Regions from separate parts of the Homo sapiens genome. Here all the other regions are linked to region 3. The links are contacts of gene promoters, found by promoter capture Hi-C in human tissues and cell types (Jung and others, 2019). All regions are on one chromosome and are shown on one strand. The core of a region is centred on a gene start or on the middle of the fragment in contact, and the rest is flanking DNA. Distances in the headings are between cores, read along the strand shown. Region 1 overlaps SAFB (scaffold attachment factor B). Region 2 holds the start of PLEKHJ1 (pleckstrin homology domain containing J1). Region 3 holds the start of APBA3 (amyloid beta precursor protein binding family A member 3). Region 4 holds the start of KDM4B (lysine demethylase 4B).

Region 1 (3,218 bases), core at 418-2,917, 1.9 Mb after region 3:
CCATCTGTCTGCCTTAGAGACCTAGTTCCTCAAAAGACAACTGATCCATCCCACCAATAGCAACTCGTCTCCTTGGGTCCTCTGTCCTCCCGTGGCATAGTTCCTTACCCCTTGGTTTAATATTTATGTCATCTTGCCTTCTGTCAAGAGCAGATTGATGAGGACTAGGGCTGTGTCTTGTTTATCTTTCTTTCCCCTTCAATGGTTTAACTTGGTAACACTCAACTATTGGCTTAAGAAAGAATCAGCTGAGGCAGGGCGCCGTGGCTCACACCTGTAATGCCAGCACTTTGGGAGGTTGAGGCGGACTGGTCACCTGAGGTCAGGAGTTCGAGACCAGCCTGGCCAACATGATGAAACCCCGTCTCTACTAAAAATATAAAAATTAGCCAGGTGTGGTGGCGGGCTCCTGTAATCCCAGCTACTCAGGAGGCTGAGGCAGGAGAATTGCCTGAACCCAGGAGGTGGAGGTTGCACTGAGCCCAGATCGCACCACTGCACTCCAGCCTGGGCGACCGCAAGACTCCATCCCCCTAAAAAAAAGAATCAGCTGAAGCTGGGCTTGTAGACCGAATGTTCTCTTGGTTCATGTAGAGTTTTCCCTATCTGAAATGCTTGGGACCAGAAGGGTTTCATTTTTTGGATTTTGTGCGGTATTTTCGTACGCATAATGAGATAATCTTGGGATTGGGGCCCAAATCTAAACAAGAAATTTGTTTCTTATACACCTGAAGATAATTTAATACCATATTTTTTATAATTTTGTGCATGAAACAAAACTTTCACTAATTCCACACATCAGGTGTGGAATTTTCTACTTGTGGCAATATGTCAGTGCTCAGAAGGTTTCAGTTTCAGATAGGGTTGCCCAACCTGTAATTGAAGGCCTGGTTCTCAGGGCCCAAAACTAAATGAGATAATAACTAATACTTGGTGGTGAAGTACTGGGTTTAAATATCTGAGAGTCAGGCCCCAGTGTCAGCCACAGTGTTTGGGGTAAGTGCTGGGAGAACAGCAGAATGAAGTCACTTCTGTGGCTCATGATACATTGCGTGTTTTTGCCTTTACTCAAGTATACTTCTGCCAAGGCAAAGAGTCCTGGAAAATCAATGGAGAAAGAAATAATAAAAGCAAAAAACAGAGCCTGTGGATCTCCTTTTTTGTTTTCCTTTTTCTTCTGATAAAAGCAAATACTTGTACTACAGGCTTTTGTTGCTGTTTTTGTTTTGTTTTTGAGGTGGGTTCTCACTCTGTCACTCAGATGGAGGGTAGTCGCGCAGTCATAGTTCGCTGCAGCCTTGAACTCCTGGCCTCAAGCAGTGCTTTCACCTCAGCCCCACAAAACGTTTAGATTTCAGTTGTGAGCCACTGCGCCCGGCAGGTTTTAAAATACGTGCATGGGAGTAAAAAGCAGAAGTTGTTCACAGTCGGGACAGCCCACTACTAAAAGTTAGGCATACTTCTCCAGACTGTGTGTGTATGTACAATGTTTAAAAGTAAACTTAGGCCTGGGTTACAGAGCAAGACCCTGTGTCTAGAAAAACAAAAAGTTAAATAAAAGTCAATGAGCTGGGCATGGTGGCACACACCTGTAGTCCCAGCTACTAGGGAGGCCAAGGTAGGAGGATTGCTTAAGCCCAAGAGGTCAAGGCTGCGGTGAGCCATGAGTGTGCTTCTACACTCCAGCTTGGGCACAGAGTGAGAGGGGGAAAAAAGTAAATATATAGGTATGTGCACACACCTGTATGCATATTTTTTTCATTAAAAAAACCCGTGATCTTGCTATACAAAATCTCACTGTTTTTTAACAGGCTAATAATCTTCTGTATGAATAAATACACAATTTAGCCCATCAGTCTTTTTATTACTAGACGTTTGGAGATTTTTATTTCCAATTATCACTCGGTACTTCCAACATTCAGTGTTTGCACGAACCAGAGATAAATACCTTTGTGTGGTCAAAGTAATATAATTTTTGATAACTTAGTGAAAGGAGAATTCTAGACTCCAAGGATATGGCCCTTTATTTTCACATAGCTAGTTTACAAATAGCTGTCCCGGCCAAGTTCAGTGGCTCACGCCTGTAATCCTAGCACTTTGGGAGGCTGAGGTGGGCGGATCAAAAGATCAGCCTGGCCAACATGGCAAAACCCCACGTCTACTAAAAATACAGAAATTTGCCAGGTGTGGTGGTGGGCGCCTGTAATCCAAGCTACTCAGGTGGCTAAGGCAAGAAGATAGCTTGAACCTGGGAGACTGAGGTTGCATTGAGCCAAGATAGTGCCACTGCACTCCAGCCTTGGCGACAGAGTGAGGCTGTCTCAAAAACAAAAACAAAAACAAAAAGCTGTCCCAGGTTGTACCCTACCAACAATGGGTGACGGTGCCTATTTCACTAAACTCAACATCAAACTTACCTTGTTTGCCTGTTACCTTGTTGCCTGTTATATAGAAGAAAAGTATTTCATTGTATTTATCTGCATTTTTCTGCAGGTGAGATTTTCGTTTGCATTTCTTCACAGATTATACTCTTCTGATAATTGGACATTTGTGTCGTCTGAATGGCCTTTTCATGCCCTTTGCCGATTTCTGTGCTGGGTTGTTTGTCTTATTGAGTTATAAAGACTCATATAAAATGTTTCTATTGTTTTAATCTGTCATTCAATTTAATCTGATTCGACTTGTGGTATTTTGATCACTAGGCTTCTAGATTTTATGTTACGCTTTAAAAGGACTTCTTTGCTTTTAAATTATTAAAAATATGACTGTAAGGCCAGGTGCGGTGGCACACGTCCGTAATCCCACGATGCAGGTGGATCACCTGAGGTCAGGAGTTCAACACCAGCCTGGCCAACATGGTGAAACCCTGTCTCTACTAAAAATACAAAAATTATCTGGGTGTGGTGGCAAGCGCCTGTAATCCTAGCTACTTGAGAGGCTGAGGCAGGAAAATCGCTTGAACCCGGGAAGCAGAGGTTGCAGTGAGCCGAGATCACGCCACTGCACTCCAGCCTGGGCGACGAGTGAAGCTTCGTCTCAAAAAAAAAAAAAACTATATGTATAACTCTGTTATATATAGAAAGAATAATATTTATGGTTTTATTTTTACATTTTACATTTGGAGGTTTAATTAATTTAGAATGTATTTTGCATGTGGTGTGAGGTAGGTAGGGATGAAAACATGAAACATTTAGGCTGGGCGTGGTGGCTCATGCCTG
Region 2 (3,619 bases), core at 709-3,208, 1.5 Mb before region 3:
AGTATGGCCCTGTATATAAACAGGGTCTTTGCATATAAACTAGTCAAAATGAGGTTGTCGCCAGGTGCGGTGGCTCATGCCTATAATCCCAGCGCTTTGAGAGGCCAAGGTGGGAGGATTGCTTGAGCTCAGGAGTTCGAGACCAGCCTGGGTGACATGGCAAAATCCCCATCTCTACAAAAACAAAAATTAGCCAGGTGTGGTGGTGGGGCCTTGTAGGCCCAGCCACTCCGGAGTCAGAAGTGGGAGGACTGCTTGAGCCAAGGGGGTTGAGGCTGCAGTGAGCTGTGATCACGCCACTGCACTCCAGCCTCGGAAACAAAAGATCCTGTCTCAAAAATAAAGAGGGCCGGGTACGGTGGCTCAAGACCGTAATCCCAGCACTTTGGGAGGCCGAGGTGGGAGGATCACCTGAGGTCAGGAGTTCGAGAGCAGCCTGGCCAATATGGCGAAACCCCGTCTCTACTAAAAATACAAAAATTAGCTGGGCATGGTGGCGCGTGCCTGTAGTACCAGCTACTCGGGAGGCTGAGGCAGGAGAATCACTTGAACCCGAGAGGGGGAAGTTACAGGGAGCCGAGATTGCACCACTGCACTCCAGCCTGGGCGACATACCAAGACCCTGTCTCAAAAAATAAGCAAATAAAATAATAAAGTGAAGTAAAAAGGGGTTGTCAGGGTGGGCCCTAAATTCTGCTTGGCGTCTGTGTAGAAGGGGAAATGTGGGCACAGACGTGATGCAAGGAGGACAAGGTGACGCTTCCACAAGCCAAGGAACCTGGAGGATACTGGCCACCACTAGGAACTGGGAGATTCCCCTCGGCCTCAGAAGGATTCGGCCCCACCCACACCTTCATCTAGGATTTCTGGCCTCCAGAACTGTAGAGAATGTTTCTGATATTTAAGCCACCTGGCCTGTGGAATTTTGACAGCCACTCTGGGCAAACTAGCAGGGACTCCATCTTTCCCCGCAGAAGGGAATCTCTTAAGACCCAGGAGAACACCCCCCTCTCACTCCTCCTACCCCCACCTGGGATTTCCAGCCCGGGGCCATATAACAATGCTAGACCCATGCTACTCTTGGCAGCTGGGGAAACGCTTTGGGTGGGGCTGGCCCACCTGCCCTGTAAGTACAGCCTGGGCCCACAGGGAACAAAGAGCAGAGTCTGGGAGGGACCCAAGCTTAAGTGGACTCGGCAGGTGGGAAGGGTGGTGCCCGCCAGGAGAACTTGACCTTGAGCTGCCCGTGGACAATGCACTCTTGTGTTTGAGGAGGGTGGCGCCAGGCTGGGGACACAGAGGAGACCTTGGGCGCCCGGGGAGGGGAAAGTGCGGCGCTGCGGGTGCCCCGGGCTGCGGGAAGCGCCGCTGGCTTCCCTAGCCCCACTCACTGATGGAGAAGGTGCCGGGCTCTTCCCGGACGACTCTGCAGCGCTCCAGCAGCAGGGCTCCGACGGGCTGGAGGAGACACGGGCGCCGGGACGGGGCAGTGAGCACCCGGCCTCCGAGGGGCCCAGCCTGGGACCCGCCCGCGCGCCCGGGACGCCCCTACCTCGGCCTCGTCTGTCCGAAAGTAGAAGAGGAAATTCACCACCAGCTTCACCAGCCGCCGCTTCAGCACTGCGGGCACAGCGCGCACTCAGGGGCGCAGGCAGCCCCCGCCCGGACCCCGGCCTCCCGTCCCCGGCGCCCCGACCCGGACTCCGGCCTCCGGCACCCCCGCCCAGACCCCGGCCCCGGCCTCCCGCCCCTGGCACTGTCTCGGTCTCCCGGGTCCCGCTCACCGCTGCCCTTCTTGGGGCCCCTCATGCCCAGCTCGGCCGCCATCTCGGCCGGCTGCCGGGACAGAGCCTGCAGCTCCTTCTCGTTGTACCGCATGGCTCCGCGGGGAACGGGAACCCGGGCCGCGCCCTCCCGGCCGCCGTCCCCGCTCAGGCTGGGGCCGGCGCCAAAAATGTCTCAGGGCGCAGACACGGAAGCACCCCCAGGGCTAGTGCGCCTGCGCACCTTGGGCCAGCCATGCCGCCCGCCTCCGCTGCGTGGCGCTGGCGACCCGTGGCTGCTGGCGTGGGCGGGGTACCGGTTGGTAGGAGAGACGGACCGTTGTTACATAACCATTAAACTGAAATAAACCGGACCAAGGTGGAACAGAATCAAGGCACCCCAGCGATGGCTGGCACCCCTTTCTAGAGCGGCCAGGCGCAGGCGGAGGGAGCGATAACGTCGCCCGGAGAGTGTCAGCCGCTCCCTCGCGAAAGTTGGCCCCGTGCGGCCGCAGCGGACCGAGGGTTCGTTGAGAGCGTTGTGCGCACGCGCAGTTTGCCTTCCAGGCCGCGCTTTCAGCCTCTCCCCCTCCAGCCTTTTCCTTCGCGCCTCGGGACCCTCTGACTCACGCCGCTGGGCGGGCCAGGCATGCGCACACCAGAGGGCCCGTCTCATTTGCCCCGGAAGTGCTTTCTTTGCCCGCCGTTCGCCAAACGAAGTCGTGGAGGTGGCGAAACGAGGAGGAGATAACGCGGCCTTGGGCTCTGGTGAGGAGTAGAGGCGGTTGAGGGCGGCGGCCGACGCGGACCGGGGGTTCCCTGGGGGACAGCGGACGTAGGAGAGAGGCGCTTGCGACAGGCCGCGGGCCGAGGGTGGGGCGGCGGCGTCGCTCCCCTCCCTCCTCCCGTGAGCGTCCGGCCTTGTGCATCCTGAGGCCCCGCGCTGGGCGGGCCTGGAGGGTCGGGCCCGCCAGGAACTCTATTTCCAAACTCCTGTTGGGAGGCCGCGCGCGGGGCCTCACGCCTGTAATCTCACTGCTCAGGGAGGCCTTGGCGGGAGGATCGCTTGAGGCCAGGAGTTCGAGACCAGCCTGGACAACACACCGAGACCCCCATCTCTACAAAAAATTTTAAAAAATTAGCCAGGAGTGGTGGTTGTACCTGTAGGCCCAGCTACTCGAGAGGATCGCTTGAGCTCGGAATGTCGAGGCTGCAGTGAGCCATGATCCCACCACTGCACTCCAGCCTGGGCAACATAGCGAGACCCCATCACTGCAAAAAAAAAAAAAAAAAAAATTAGCCGGGCGTGGTTGGTGACGCGCGCCTGTAGTCCCAGCTACTCTGGAGGCTGAAGCGGGAAGATCGCTTGAGTCCAGGAGGTCGAGGCTGCAGTGAGTTGTGATTGTGCCGTTGCACTCCAGCCTGGACAACAGAGCAAGACCCTGTTTGACAAAATAAAAAAGAAACAACCAAGATTCGTTGGGGTCGAATCGGGATCGCGGCTGAAATGGTTTCGGCCGCCTTCCTTGTAGCCGAGAACGCTTCTGTATGCTCATCTATACCTGTTAGTTGACTGGGGCTCTGTGATGTAATTCCTGTGAGCCTCAGTTCCCTTAAAATGGGAGTGACGGCTTCAACATCATGCCAAAGGCGACCAGAACACGTTAGCTGGCCCCATTTTGCAGGTGCACCCCGCTGTGACCGTTGTTCTTGTGTATCCTTGGACGACACCAAACAGCCAGGCGGAGCTCTGGAAAATAGGTTGTTGGCTAGGTTAAGGAGAGAACGGTGTTGCCACGAAAAACTAATTCCTTCTCAATGGTCTAGTCCCAGGTCCCAGAGGCCACTTTTCCTCA
Region 3 (3,285 bases), core at 72-2,571:
TTGGGAGGCCCAGAAGGGCTGACTGAACCCAGGAGTTCAAGATCAGCCTGGGCAACAGAGCAAGACCCTCTCTCTACAAAAAATACAAAAAATTAAGGCCGGGCACAGTGGCTCACGCCTGTAATTCCCAGCACTTTGTGAGGCCGAGGCGGGCAGATCATGGGGTCAGGAGTTTGAGACCAGCCTGACTAACATGGTGAAATTCCGTCTCTACTAAAAATACAAAAAATTAGCCAGGTGTGGTGGCAGGCACCTGTAATCCCAGCTACGCAAGAGGCTGAGGCAGGAGAATCGCCTGAACCCGGGAGGCGGAGGTTGCAGTGAGCTGAGATCGCGCCATTGCACTCCAAGGTGGGCGACAGACGAGACTATCTCCAAAAAAAAAAAAAAAAACTAGCTAGGGGTGGTGGTGTAGGCTGTAGTCCCAGCTACTTGGGAGGCTGAGGTGGGAGGATCACCTGAACCAGGGGAGGCAGAGGCTGCAGTGAGCCTTGATTGTGCCACTGCACTCCAGCCTGGGTGACAGAGTGAGGCCCTGTCTTAAAAAAAACAAACAAACCCGAAAAACAAAAAACTTGAGGTTTCCCGGCTGCCTATCCGGTGCTAGGCTCTAGCTGGGTACTGTTCATACAGGGCACATAATTTAATACCCACTAACCCTTGCAAGGAAGTTAGGATTCCCATTTTACAGATGAAGAAACTGAGCCACAGAATGGGGAGGTGTGAGGCAGTGGCTTCCCGAGCCCCTGTGTCATCCCAGACCTCTCTCAACTAATGGAGTCTGTTCACTCCAGCCCTGGTTCTTCCAGGTCCTCCTCCCTCAAGACGCGGAACCCAGGCTGGAGACCCAGACCTCACACCCTGACTCTACCGACTGGTCAGAGGCAGTTCCCCAAGACCCCAGACCCAAGACCCCAGTCCCATGACCTCAACCCCCAATACCTCCATCCAGAACTTTAGACCCAGGACCCTGGACTTAATACCAGAGACCCAAGACGCCATAAGGCGGACCCCAGTCTCCAAACCTCCAATGCTACCCCAAGATCGACTCCAGACTCAGACCCCGACTTCAGGACCCAGCCCCAAGCCCAGACCCTAGTCCCCCCTCAGACCGAAGACCTCAAGCGCCGACTCAGACTGCGCTCTGCACCTCGAGGACACTCACTTCCCAAATCGAGGCCGCCTCAGCCCCGCGCAGCCTCCAGGACCCCGCTCCCCACGGACGGCCCCGACGTAGCCCGGGCCGCGTCCCCAGAAGGCGCAGCTCGGGGATTCCCGGTCCCGGCGCCCGCTCCTCTATCCGCGCAGAGCCCTGGCCCATTGAGCATGCGCGGCCTCGCGAGGCCTGCTGGGAAATGTAGTTCTCCCACCCAGCCTCGCCACGCGGGGGCGCTGGGACAACTGCAGATGTTGGAGGGGAGTTCGAATCCCAGGCTTCCCGGCCCGCAGACTGCCCCGGCTGGCCCCAGGACCTGTTTGTTCTCCTGCAAAATAGGGTTAATAATCACTGCCTGGCTCTGGGGGCTGTGTTCATTATTCCAAAGGATGGCAGATGGGGAGAAGTGGGGTTGGGAAATATTAAAGAAGTGTGAGAGGTGGTTTCCTTGGGACCTTGAGGCACCGGAAGCGTCGTGGAGACCCTGTTAAAGACGGACTTTCGGTTTGGCTCACAGTAGGGAGACACATAGGTGCACCATGGATTTGGGGTCGGCCTGGGAACTTTACCTCCCTGAGAACTCAGTTTCCTCATTATAAGCTGGGGAAAAAATAGTACCTACCTCTCAATTGTGAGGATTAAATTAGATCAAGCGGGTTAAGGATTTAGCAGTAGTAGAGCTGGAAAAGAATATATAAAATATATATTATTAATTTATATATTATATATAAAACATACTATATATTATATGTATTATATATGTTATATATAATTTTAAAAATATAATGTTATAAAAATTAACAGTGATTAGACTCCAGCCCTACTGGAGTATATTAGACTCATTGTTAATCTTCTTTTTTTAACTTTAAAGCTTTGAATAATTACTCATTGGATGGAATCAGGAACATATAAAGTGTGATATTTTTAGTAAATGTTATGTAATTGAAGAAGGGCAAGAAGTCAATGAAATATCCCTTGAACGCCTCCTCCTATAGTAACTGTGTATGTCTACAAAAGTCTGAAGAAATCACCATAGATTATGAAAGCTTGGGAGACCGCATTTCCCAGACACCTCCACGGGGCCTACACTTCCACGGGGCCTACAACTCCCAAACACCCTTGGGCCACTGACGTCTTCCGGAAACGTGCACTTGCAAGCTGCCCGCAATACGTCATGGCGACCAAACGCCTTTTCGGGGCTACCCGGACGTGGGCCGGCTGGGGGGCCTGGGAGCTCCTAAACCCCGCCACTTCCGGAAGACTCCTGGCCCGGGATTATGCCAAGAAACCAGGTGAGCTGGGTTAAGAGGAACCAAATGGGGACGGTGGGTGCACTGAGGAATTGACAGTGCGCAGGCGGTGGTTGGGGAGGTGGTGCTAGAACTGATGCGCAAGCGCAGAGAGGCGGATGCCAGGCTGTATGCGCAGGCGCAGTTTGAGGGACCCAGCGCCGCTTGGAGCTCGGGCGTCTGGCTCGGAGATACTGTAGCGATTGGACCCAGGGCGCAGGCGCCAGCTTGGGGCGGAGCGGCCTGGGAGGAGGATGTGGTTACGTGGAGACCACGCGTTTCACTGCGCAGGCGCGGGTTGGAAAGGATTTGAAGGGAGTCTGGGGAGGTCATGAACTTGGGTTCCAGTTCTGTTTCTCTGCCTGCCTCCAAATCGCTGGGTAACCTTGGCCAAGACGTTACCAAACATTCAAAGAAATTATGGAGCCCGTTTAATTGGCCACTTCAGCAAGAACAAAACAAGGTTATTAAGGTTTAGCTGGATACAGCCTTGCCTGATCTCCTTTGTTGAAAGGGGGAAATTGTCCAATGTTCGGCCTTAAAGACAGACACATAGCAGACAAAATATAACTTGAATGACTTGGTCATTCCAAGCATCGGTGTTACTTAATGCTATGTCCAAATCCCACTTAAAGTTACTTAATGCTGTGTCCAAATCCCACTTAAAGTGATTTCGAGGCCAGGCATGATGGCTCACACCTTTATTCCCGGCACTTTGGGAAGCCAAGGAGGGAGGATCGATTGCTTGAACCCAGGAGTTCGAGACCAGCCTGGGCAACATAGCAGGACCCTGTTTGTATAAAAAAAAAAAAAAATTGCCTGGCGCGGTAGCTCACGCCT
Region 4 (3,119 bases), core at 101-2,600, 1.2 Mb after region 3:
TGAGTCGCCCGAGCCACAGCACCGGGCCTGGCCTCCTTTTCAATTGCTACATAGTAAGTATTCCAGAGTACTGATTGCTATTAAGTTACTTCTCTAATCCCCCACTGATGGATAGTTAGTGCAAAACATTGGAAACAGTTGCAGACAGCCCTGCCGCCGGCATTCTTGAATTGTGTAAGCTCCAGACCTTTTTTCTGGGTACATCACCTCCAGGAAGAACTGCTGGCTGGGTTATCGGGTGGTGGATGCACTTAGAATGTTATTAGAAAATGTCAAATTGCCCAATTTACACTCCTGCCACTCCAAATGGGGGCATGCCTCACACCCCTGCGTGGTCCAGTACACAATGAATGCTCATTTTGTGAAGTCACAGGGTCAAATCTTTCTCCGTGCCTCATCCCACTTAATCCTTGCAACATTCTCAAGAGGCGGGTAGACGGGGTGTGGCCACTACCATCATATCCATTGCACAGTTGGAAACAGACTCAGCGAGGTTACTTTGCTGGAGGTCAACCACAGTGAGGCATGGGGCCCGGCTTAGCTTTGAATCCAGGTCAGAAAGCACCAAAGCTCATTCTCTCCCATACATTTTAGGGAACTCGGGGAGAGGGACCCTAACTATTCCGAAGGCCTTGCCCCTTGGCAAAGGTTTGTTGATTGTGATGGGAATAGACCTACGGTGGCGGGGTGGAGGCTCTTGCTGCTTTACCCTATGTTCTCGGTTCTCCTCCTTTGCAAAACGGATCGCTATGTCTCCTTGCTTGGCACTTTGCAAATTGGGGAACGCTAAGCCCACATTCCGGCCACGGGTTTCGAACCTCCAGCCTGCACGTTCCCGGCCGGTGCTGATGCTGTGCTGGGTCTCACGTACTCAGCCGCCGCCTGATAACCAGGGCGGGGCCCGGAGCTTGCGGGCAGTGATTGGCACCTGCCCCAGCCTGTCCGCGCCTCGGGCTGGCCCCTCAAGCCAATACTGGCTCCTCTCTGTGCGGTCGTCGGGCGGGCCCTGAGGCTCCCTTGTCAATCCAAGGCCCAGCTGCCGTCGGGTTGGTCGCGGCAGCCTTGGCTGGCGTGCGCCCCCTCCAATGAGAACAGAGCCGGTCAGCGGGCACGTGGGTGGGCGCCGGCGTGTCCCCGCCGGTCTGCCAATGAAGAGGCGAGGCCGGCGTTTGTCCCCGCCCAATCGCGGCGCGCGGTGGGCGGGCCGTGCGGTGTTGATGGGCCCGGCGGAGGGGAGGGGCGGAGCTGTCAGCTCCGGCCAATGGGCGCTCGGGCGTGGATCCGGCAGCCAATGGCAGTCGGGGCGGAGCTGGCGCGCGGCCTTATAAGCCCCCCCGCGAGCGCTTGCGGAGGGCTCGGTCGCCAGCAACCGAGCGGGGCCCGGCCCGAGCGGGGCCTGGGGGTGCGACGCCGAGGGCGGGGGAGAGCGCGCCGCTGCTCCCGGACCGGGCCGCGCACGCCGCCTCAGGTGAGCCCACGGGGAGGCCGCCCGGCCGTGTCCGAGCGCGGACCCCGCCGCCATGGCCGCCCCCGCGTCGCGGCTCGGGGCTGCGGGCGCGCCCGGGACTCGAGGCCCAGGCCTCGGGCGCGGCCTGCTCGGGCCGGGCCTCGCGCTTTGTCCGGGCCGGCGGGGCGGTTGGGGCGTTAACCGCCCGGCCCGGGGGCGCCCGCTGGTTTTCGGGCGGGGGCGGCGGGGCCGGACAATGGCGGGGCGCGCCCAGGGGCGGGAGCGGGGGCCCCTTCCCGGGCCGGGGGCGCGCGGGGGCTGGGCACAGACGGCCCCGGCGCCCCGCACAAAAGATGACAGCGTGGGTGGCCCCGGCCGGGCCCTTTTATCACCCGGGACAAGCCTCGGCCTATTATTATTATTATTTTTGAAAGAAAGCAAGAAAAAGGAAAAAGACCCCAGCCCCTGGGTAACCCCCGCCTGCGTTTCTGGCCCTTTGGGCGCCAGGGGGGCTAAGGGGAAGCCCCCCAGCTGGACACCCAGGGATGCCCCCTAAATGCCTATCATTGCTCCTGCACTGCCCCCACCTCCGGTCAACCTGCTATGCCTTGGTAGCTTCCAAACTTGCCCCCCTGTACGTACCCGAAACCCCCACCCCGCCATAAGCATATGCAATCTGGATTTTAGAAAAAAATCATCTTGCTATGCAACGGCAGCCTCCACGAGTCTCTCCGTCCCTCCCCCTTCCAGCCTGATCGCCATCTCGAACGAAGCCCCTGCTCTAGAGAAATGAATTGAGGAGTTGCTTCCGCCGAGACCCCTTTTCTGTGTCCCCCGTGGACATCCCCCTGGGAGCTGGGGACGGACTCGCTCTGAAATCTGCTTGACCTGGGGTCTGCCAGGGCCCAGGTCTGCGCTCAGTGGTGGCCATGACAATCAGGCAGGACGGGGGACTCTGTCCACCTGGGCACGGTGGAAGGTTTTAAGGGGCATGTTTTCCGCCCCTGGGGGCAGTGGAGGCATGGACTGCTTTTGGGTGCATCCCATCTGTTTGCTTGGGGGAGGATGCTTCTGTTTTAATAATTTACCAGCACCCTGTGAGGAAGTGTTCCCCGAGTTGTGAAACTAGTGAGAAGGTGGTTCAGCTCCGTGGAGCCTAGTGATCCTGTCATATGTGAAGAGCGTCTTTTTCCATGTGTTTCTGGCTGGGGCGTGTATTCAGCAAGTTCCTTTGGGTCCCACCGGGTGCCTGCACTGTCTTGGGATCTCTGGATACTGGACTGAATTCAAGGGATCGGTGCCCTGCCCCAGTCCTCTGCCTCAATGGCCATTTATCAGAATGTCCCCGGGCTGGAGAATGCTCCTAAAAACAGCACCAGTCCTAAAGCAGGCTCATTAGACGACTCCTATGGGCTTTTATCACTGCCGTTATGGGAGCTAATGACTCCCCTAATTCTCCAATAATAGCTTCCTTATGAGCCACCAGGAGGGTTTGTCAACACACGGGGTCAGCCTTCTCCTGCAGCCCCTGCTGAAGCAGTGGGCATCCTCTCTCCGCTTTGCAGTTTATGTTTTGAAACCCTGAAGGTCGGAGCGTAAAGCCGTGGTAGAGTCAACTTCTGTCTGAGCCGAGGATTTCTGGGACTTGCCAGCCTCGTCTCCGTGTGTCTGA

Evidence for each region. The method cuts DNA at HindIII sites, captures the fragments that hold promoters and counts their contacts. A contact is called where the count stands out against the background at its distance.
Region 1: a fragment that was not itself captured here is called in contact with the fragment with the promoter of APBA3 in region 3 in 1 of the 25 tissues and cell types used here (dorsolateral prefrontal cortex).
Region 2: the fragment with the promoter of PLEKHJ1 here is called in contact with the fragment with the promoter of APBA3 in region 3 in 1 of the 25 tissues and cell types used here (hippocampus).
Region 4: the fragment with the promoter of KDM4B here is called in contact with the fragment with the promoter of APBA3 in region 3 in 1 of the 25 tissues and cell types used here (heart right ventricle).

What each region holds. Positions count from the first base shown.
Region 1 is chr19:5,627,717-5,630,934 of GRCh38, forward strand. All of the region lies in intron 2 of SAFB (scaffold attachment factor B), which reads left to right. Among named protein-coding and RNA genes, the nearest start is that of SAFB, 6.2 kb to the left of the region's middle. The HindIII fragment of the contact is 7,366 bases long and covers 1-3,218 here.
Region 2 is chr19:2,234,371-2,237,989 of GRCh38, forward strand. It overlaps PLEKHJ1 (pleckstrin homology domain containing J1), which reads right to left and starts at 1,959. Exons shown (of 6, transcript NM_018049.3): 1 at 1,785-1,959; 2 at 1,553-1,620; 3 at 1,392-1,458. The coding sequence starts at 1,878. It overlaps SF3A2 (splicing factor 3a subunit 2), which reads left to right and starts at 2,454. Exons shown (of 9, transcript NM_007165.5): 1 at 2,454-2,531. It overlaps MIR6789 (microRNA 6789), which reads right to left and starts at 1,556; the gene lies at 1,459-1,556. RefSeq lists enhancers at 184-763, 766-1,374, 1,983-2,591, 2,170-2,219 and silencers at 1,400-2,029, 2,640-2,739. The HindIII fragment of the contact is 10,839 bases long and covers 1-3,619 here.
Region 3 is chr19:3,760,371-3,763,655 of GRCh38, forward strand. APBA3 (amyloid beta precursor protein binding family A member 3) reads right to left here and starts at 1,322. Exons shown (of 11, transcript NM_004886.4): 1 at 1,166-1,322. It overlaps MRPL54 (mitochondrial ribosomal protein L54), which reads left to right and starts at 2,312. Exons shown (of 3, transcript NM_172251.3): 1 at 2,312-2,448. The coding sequence starts at 2,331. LOC105372248 (a long non-coding RNA gene) reads right to left here and starts at 2,270. Exons shown (of 3, transcript XR_936268.1): 1 at 2,188-2,270; 2 at 1,779-1,836; 3 at 1,384-1,484. RefSeq lists a silencer at 1,207-1,524 and an enhancer at 2,186-2,675. The HindIII fragment of the contact is 13,428 bases long and covers 1-3,285 here.
Region 4 is chr19:4,967,763-4,970,881 of GRCh38, forward strand. It overlaps KDM4B (lysine demethylase 4B), which reads left to right and starts at 1,351. Exons shown (of 23, transcript NM_015015.3): 1 at 1,351-1,468. RefSeq lists silencers at 815-914, 1,225-1,524 and an enhancer at 2,791-2,840. The HindIII fragment of the contact is 14,440 bases long and covers 1-3,119 here.